Linked DNA regions of Homo sapiens: region 2 is linked to region 1. The links are contacts of gene promoters, found by promoter capture Hi-C in human tissues and cell types (Jung and others, 2019). All regions are on one chromosome and are shown on one strand. The core of a region is centred on a gene start or on the middle of the fragment in contact, and the rest is flanking DNA. Distances in the headings are between cores, read along the strand shown.

What was found. The method cuts DNA at HindIII sites, captures the fragments that hold promoters and counts their contacts. A contact is called where the count stands out against the background at its distance.
Region 2: a contact is called between a fragment that was not itself captured here and the fragment with the promoter of TLX3 in region 1, in 1 of the 25 tissues and cell types used here (thymus).

Annotation. Positions count from the first base shown.
Region 1 is chr5:171,306,607-171,310,537 of GRCh38, reverse strand. TLX3 (T cell leukemia homeobox 3) reads right to left here and starts at 1,290. Exons shown (of 3, transcript NM_021025.4): 1 at 752-1,290; 2 at 145-388. The coding sequence starts at 1,172. RefSeq lists enhancers at 1-27, 28-912, 913-1,798, 1,799-2,683. The HindIII fragment of the contact is 20,402 bases long and covers 1-3,931 here.
Region 2 is chr5:171,266,386-171,269,934 of GRCh38, reverse strand. All of the region lies in intron 25 of RANBP17 (RAN binding protein 17), which reads right to left. Among named protein-coding and RNA genes, the nearest start is that of TLX3, 41 kb to the left of the region's middle. The HindIII fragment of the contact is 3,677 bases long and covers 1-3,194 here.

The DNA of each region.
Region 1 (3,931 bases), core at 41-2,540:
AAGGCGGGGTGGGGGTGTGTTTGGGGGAGGCAGAGGGGGGCGGGGGTAGTGGATAGCCTTAAAATAGGGCTAGTGCGAGGCTGCGGCTCGGGGCGGGACAGGTGAAGGGCAGGTGTAAGGTGGGCCGGGTCAGGCCTCTCTCACCGCCACTTGGTCCTCCGGTTTTGGAACCAGGTCTTGACCTGCGCGTCCGTCATTTTGAGGGACTTGGCGAGCGCCGCCCTCTCGGCAGAGGCCAGGTACTTCTGGCGATGGAAGCGCTTTTCCAGCTCGCAGATCTGCACCCGGGAAAAGGACGTGCGCGGCTTCTTACGCTTGGGCGGCGTCCGGTTCTGGTAGGGGTGGCCGATGCGCCGGGTCACGGTGAAGGGCGTGAGTGCGGCCGCCGCTGCGGAGACACAGGAGGGCCCCTGAAGCCCAGCCCGGCTCCGCCACCGTTCAGGCCCCATGCGGACCCCGTGGCGCCCCGTGGGACACGGAGAGCTCCGCTATTTCGCTGGTCGCGCGCGTTTCCAGAGACACCAAGCCGGTCGGGAGACCCCCTCGCCCCCTGTCCCTTCCCCCGGGCACGGGCTTATTTTCCTGCAACTCTCCGATTACCCTCCCCACCACGGCTGCCCGGGGCCCTGGGGCCGAGGCCTCCGCCGCGCTTGGGCCTCTGAAATGGTTTCCGGGAGTGGAGCGCACAGGGCGCGGCGCCTCTGGCCCCGAGAGGGCGGAGGCCTGGAGCCTGGTCGCCAGCTCTGCTCACCTGTGAAGCGGTCTTTCACGAAGCGGCGGCTGCTCTCCATCCAGGGGAAATTGAGACCGCCAAGGCTGGAGACCGTGGGCACGGAGGGCATGGCGGGTAGCGCGCTTGGCAGAGGCGGTGGCACGGCCCCGGGCAGCGGCCTGTGCGCCGGCACCCGGATCACGCCTGCGGGCGCTAGGCTCAGGTTCACACTGTAAGATCCCGCGTCCTCGAAGGGCGCGCCGAGGCCCGCAAAGGAGGCGGGCAGAGACGGGTATGTGGCGCCCGGACGGCCCCCGGGGGGCCCTCCCAGGTAGCTGGCGCCGTCGGGGCCCCGCGGGGCGGGTGCGCTGTCCTGGTCCGGGCTGTTAAGGATCTGGTCGATGCCGAAGCTGATGGGCTCGTGCGGGTGCGGGGTCTGCGCGCTGGCGGGCGCCTCCATCCTGGGCGGGCGGAAGGGCTGGGCTGGGCTGGGCGGGGAGGCGGCTGGGTCCCCGTTACGGCGCGGCCATGGAGCGCCCGGCGCCTCTCGTCGCACTGAAACTTTGCCAAGAGTGCGCGGGCCCGACAGGCTCTGTGTCATCTTTCTTGAACCGAACCTGGAGTTTCCGCTGCTAATTCCTCTCCTGCCGCAGCCATTGGCTGCGATCAACAAGCCTCTCTCCTCTCATTGGCTCCCGGCTTTCAATAAAGGCCTAATTCATGGAAATAGGAGCTTAGGGACTGTTCCAAGGTGACATCATTTTAACAAACGAACAATAGGTCAAATTTATTAGCAGGGATAATGGGCGGCGGATATTAGAGCCCGAACCACAGCCTCCCAAACCCGAAATCTAACGAAGCTGCAATTAGCAGACGCTCCCCGCTCCTCCGGGCCGGGCCGCTTCCCAGACACCGCGCTGGGTGGGTAGAGCGCTCCGCTTGTGAAATTGTCTTTTGCTGAGTGGGTTTTCGTTTTCTTCCAATTTTTTTTTTTTTTCATCTGAGCAAAAGCCAAACCAAATGCATCCTTTCAGGTACAATGGAGTTGCAACCCCGGGACGACCCGGCGGAATCCGCAGAAGCCCCTTGGACGCTACCGCCGCCGGAGGAACGAAAGGGGCGCACTACCCGGGGCAGGCTTCGCGCTGCCTGCGCGCGGGGCGAGGGGAGCACCGTAGCGTTCTCCGCGCCCCGGATGACGCCGACCCGCGTGGGGAGAATTCGCCCCCGCCCGGGTTTCGGCCGCGGCCTCGCGGCCACTTTGGAGACACTCCCTGGCTCCGGCCAGGCGGACCGAGGCGTGACTCGCAGGTGCCCACGCGTGCCAGCTGCGGCTGGGCTAGGGACGCGGGGTCGCCCGGTGGGGAGCGGGGACCTGACTCTCGTAATTCGTTGCAGGATGGAAGGGGGCTGTGGTCGCGCGTGGGAACCCGCTCGCGGCTCGGCGGGTCTAGGGACTTCGGGTTCCTGAATGTCAAAGGCGCGGGCAGCTCCTAGAGCAAATTGCGGGATTTCTTTGGGAAACGCGACTGGTGAGCCCTTCCCGGCTCCAGTCCACTTTGGGCGCTGGAACCACTCCCCGTTCTGCTCGCGCCTCAGTGACTGTCTACCCGGCCCAGGGCACCGTGGACAGGACCGCACACGAAGTAGTCACCTTCCGCTGCAGCTTTGGGGAGACAAGCGGAATCATTTTCTTCCAGCGAATTCTAAAATCGTTAGGTGCAAACTCTTTGAGTGTCGCACCCCTGGCCTGGGTTCTTCCTCCCGCTCCTTGTGGTGTGGACAGTGGTGAGAGCTCGGATGTGCTGTTGTTGGCCAGAAGTGTGTTCAAATTTGGACTGGCCATTTCCTCGCTGAGTGACCTTGAGAAATTGACTCTATATATTTAGATTTCGGTTTTCTCGTTTGCAAAAAAGGAAAATAATGCATGCATGCGGGTTGTTCGTGAGCCGCGAGTGAGATATTGAGGGAGCGCAGAGCACTGGGCCTGGCACGTAGTAGGCACTGGGCAGCGTGGCTCACCTCCCACTCTATCCCCCCAGAGTAATGGCTGATGTATTATTGTTGTGACTCTTGTTTATTTTGTTGGCAGTTTAATTTTATTTGCAGGGGCTCAGTACGTTGGAGAGAAAGGTGTATTTGTCTACCAGTAGGGTCAGTTTCAGAGGACGGGGAAAGACAGGAGGTGCAGGTTGGGGATTCTTTCTCTCTTCTCCCAACAATCCAAAGGCGTCAGGATTTGCAGGGCCTCCAGGCCTGGGTCTGGAGTTAGGTCACTTGCCCGCTGTGTGACCTTGGGCAAATTCCTGGCCCTTGCTAAGCCTTCCTGGTGGGTGTGGAGAGGGAGGCCCAACAGTGAGGAGTGAGAGCTGCAGGATGTCTGGGGTCTGGGCAAGTGCTCCCTCACTCCCTTCCAGCGACAACGACCCTCAGATGGGGTAGATGCCATTGCCCTGGCTCCAGGGGGCCTCCTGCTTCTAATTCAGGCTCTGCCACTGGCAGTGTGGGTCCCTAACCGCCCCTCCCAGAACCGCATTTTCCTTATTTGTAAAACAAAAAGGGCACCAGCTACCCCCAGGGTGGCTGTGAGAACAAAATGAGATAACATCTGTGGCAGTGCCTGTGTGAAACTCTGGCGGTTATATCATAATAACTTTAATGACAACTATAAAGCTACTGTAGCTGAGACCCTAGCCTGTGCCAGGCAGGGAGGTGGACACTTATTTATTCTTCACAATGACCCTGTGAGGAAAGGGCTGTTAGTGGCCCCAATTTCTCACTAATGAGGGAATTGAGGCTTTGAGAGTTCAAGGGAAGCACAGCTCCCCACTTGGGGGCTGGAGTTGGCACCTCACCAGCTCCACTTCCCTTCTGGCTTCCAGTGCCCGGGACTCAGGGCTGCCCTTGTCACTTCAGACACTGTTAAATCAGGACAACAAGGCCCACCGCACAGAGGTTTGTGGCACAGAATTAAGGCGTGGGTGGCACAGCGCTGCTCCCAGCTTGTGTGCTTAAGAATGGGATTCCCACCTCAGTTTACCAGCTGTGGACTCAGGGAATTATTCATCCTCTTTATGCCTCAGTTTTCTCATCTGGTAAATAAACCTCATGGGATTAAATAAGCGCCCCAGGTAAAGCCTGGCACGGGTCAGGGCTCTGCTTCACTGCTTGGCTTCCGGCTTCCTGAGATCCACGGTCCCTCATCGTCCAGCCCTGTCA
Region 2 (3,549 bases), core at 107-2,606, 41 kb after region 1:
GTTTAGTTTAAAGAGCTGACAAACCCTCTCTAAACTCCAAGCACAATTAGTCATTAGGGTCTAGTTTTTCAGCACTGTTAAGCAATTTGTAATCCATTCCTTTTAATAGGGTTAGGCATTACTTAACCGACACAGATGCCTTGAAAACTGAAACCTCAAGTTATAAAGCAGCAACCTTGTTCATTACCTTCTGCAATAGGCAAATCATCTATTAAAAACAGCATTTAATGGGCAACCAATGAATAATCAATGGCTCACTTTTCATCTGAGTGTGAAAATGAAAATAATCCAATACAAAATCCCACTGGTAACAGGCTGAATCTTGGGTTCTGCTCCTCTTCAGGGCTGATTTATAAGGTCTTGGAAAGCTGATGTAAACAGATGATCAATGGGACCCATCCCTGCTAATAATAACCCCCAACTGGCCCACTCCCTCTTTTTCAAGTCCATCCCTTCAGGCTATTAGTTCTGTCCAGCTAATTCTTCCCACTACTCCTGCCTGCCGCTTTTACTCTGGCCATCCGTTCAGTCCAGCCGACTCAGAAGTAATTTTATACGCAGCAGAGAGCGGGTGGAATTGATTTTTCACTCAGCACTCTGTTCCCATCTGAATAATTATCAATTTTACTGCCTCATAAAGGGAAGAGTCAAAATTTCAAATCAATTCAAAAGAGCTTTTGAGACGACAGAAACTGTGCATAAGAATAGAGGTCAAAGTTGTCAGTAACCTAAGGAGATGATGTCAGATATTACTATACCTAATAGCTGACATCAGAGGCACTCAAGATGATATAACCTAGTGCTAATGCAAATCATATTTATGCTGACTACCAGAGCCCAGTCATTAATATTTAAAATGCTATCTGAAAGCCTACATTCCAAATAAATAGAAAGTATTCCACTGTTAATAAAGATATATCACTACTTAGTCATATGCTATAAAGTGAAGGATTAACAAGTATTATTAACACACAGAAATTACTTAAACCAACAAATGCACGCTAATTCTGAGTAAAGACAAACTTGATTTGTCTCCTGCCCAACCACATTACTTCCTTTGCAAAACATGATATGGTATTTTGTCTAGGGCCATAGCCTGTTGATTTGTGCTAAAATTTTCTACCAACTTAAAAGTTTCTGCCAAAGTTTATGGGACAATACTGTGATTATGGTTGAGTGCTGGAAGGAGTGATTTGGTGGCAGACTTGTCCCTTGCCATGGTGGGGTAAAGGCTGGGTCTGATTCCTAGCCAATCCATGAATTTTTTTTTTTTCTTCAGTGTGGACATGCTTTAAGTCAGTGATCCTCAACCTTCTTCATGCAAAACACATGAGGGCTGTGACACACTCCCACCAGTACCAGTGGTTACTGCATTTGGGTGGGGTGGGGAGGGAGGAGAGACGCGCTGACATTTTGATAGCATGTATATTTTGAAAAGCCATTCCAGGTGAAGCTGAGATATTATCCTCACCTTGAATACCAATGGTGTGAGTAGTAAGAACTTGCGCTTTTCAGTCAAACAGACCTTGCTTCAAATTCCAACTCTACCACTTTCCAGTTGATCTCTCTGTACCTCAATTTATTCATCTGTAAAATGGGGATGCTGATATCCATTTTTCAGGGTTGTTGTGGGGTCTAAATGAGGAGAACTCTTTGACAATACTCCCTCCCCTTGAATTTTACTTTCTTTGTCATCACTATATTAATGAAATGATCAAATAACTGGTGAGTTACTTGTCTCTTTGTCCCATGGCAAGAAATTTTGTAAGGAGAGAAATTATATCTCGTGAATCTTAATAGCTCTTGCACCTGACACATAATAAGTTCTCACTAAATGTGAGATACCTTCCTTTTTCCTTTATATTACCAACATGTTGTAACAGTTCCAGGGTCACACCAAATAATTATAAGTCTACAGCCCTTTGCCTAGTTACACAAAATATGAATGACATCCATTATCCCTGGAAAATAATTGGTTAACTGAAACATTACCACAAATAAAGTTTACATAATTTCATTTAAATATTAGCAAAAAATGGCAGCCAGGAAGGAACCTTCTTTCATAGCTGTCTCATTCTATTTTCATCATTTACTGATATAGAGTGACATTTTCTTTTTCTTTTTCTTTTTTTTTTGAGATGGAGCTCTGTCGCCAAGCTGGAGTGCAGTGGTGTGATCTCGCTCACTGCAACCTCTGCTTCCCAGGTTCAAGCAATTCTCCTGCCTCAGCCTCCCACATAGCTGGGAATACAGGCACACACCACCATGCCCAGCTAATTTTTGTATTTTTAGTAGAGACAGGGTTTCGCCATATTGGCCAGGCTGGTCTCGAACTCCTGACCTCATGATCCACCTGCCTTGGCCTCCCAAAGGTGCTGAGATTACAGGCGTGAGTCACTGCGCCCGGCCAACATTTTCTGATGATTGCAGGCAACTTATTTGCTCCCTAACGGTCATATAGCAACACACTATTGATGTGTTTACATTTGCAAATTACAAACTATTATGGATGTAATTTGGCAAAAGAAAACAACTGAAAACAGGATGAAGATACTTTCCAAATTTAGTGGAATTAGAAAACACAGTGATAGGGCTAGGTGCAGTGGCTCACACCTGTAATCCCAGCACCTTGGGAGGCTGAGGTGGGAGGACTGTTTGTGCTCAGGAGTTCAAAACTAGCCTACTAGCCTGGCAACGTGGCAAAACTCCTTCTCTCCAAAAAAAAAAAAAAAAATTAGCTGGATGTGGTGGTGTGCACCTGTAGTCCCAGCTACTCAGGAAGAGGCTGAAGTGTGAGGATCGCTTGAGACCTTGAGAGACAGAGGTTGCAGTGAGCCCAGATTGTGCCACTGCACTACAGCAAAGGCAACAGAGTGAGACCCTGTCTCAAAAAAAAAAAAAAAAAAAAGAAAAGAAAATATAGTGATGGTATAGCCATAAAAAATGGTATTGTTCTTTTTGAAATATTTTTGGCATGTATGTTTTTTTAAAAATTTTTAAATTTTCTTTTTTCTTTTTTTTTGAGATGGAGTCTTGCTCTGTCATCCAGGCTGTAGTGCAGTGGTGTGATCTCAGCTCACTGCAACCTCTGCCTCCCCAGGTTCACACGATTCTTCTGCCTCAGCATCCCGACTAGCTGGGACTACAGGTGAGCACCACCACGCCTGGCTAATTTTTGTATTTTTAGTAGAGATGGGGTTTGACCATATTGGTCAGGCTGGTCTTGAACTCCTGACCTGGTGATCTGCCTGCCTTGGCCTCCCAAAGTGCTGGGATTACAGGCATGACCACCGTGCCTGGCCTAAATCTTCTTTTTTAGAGATGGGGTCTTGCTATGTTGCCCAGGCTGGTCTTGAACTTCTGGGCTCAAGCAATCCTCCTGCCTCTGCCTCTGGAGCAGCTGGTACTACAGGTACTGCACCTTGCAATATTCATTTCTTATGCATGCCGTTACTATTATTTGCACAAGTGAGTTTTTAAAAAATGGTATTAAACTTGGACCTAACCCATTAGCTAGTTAGAACATACACTAGAAAATAAACAAATAGT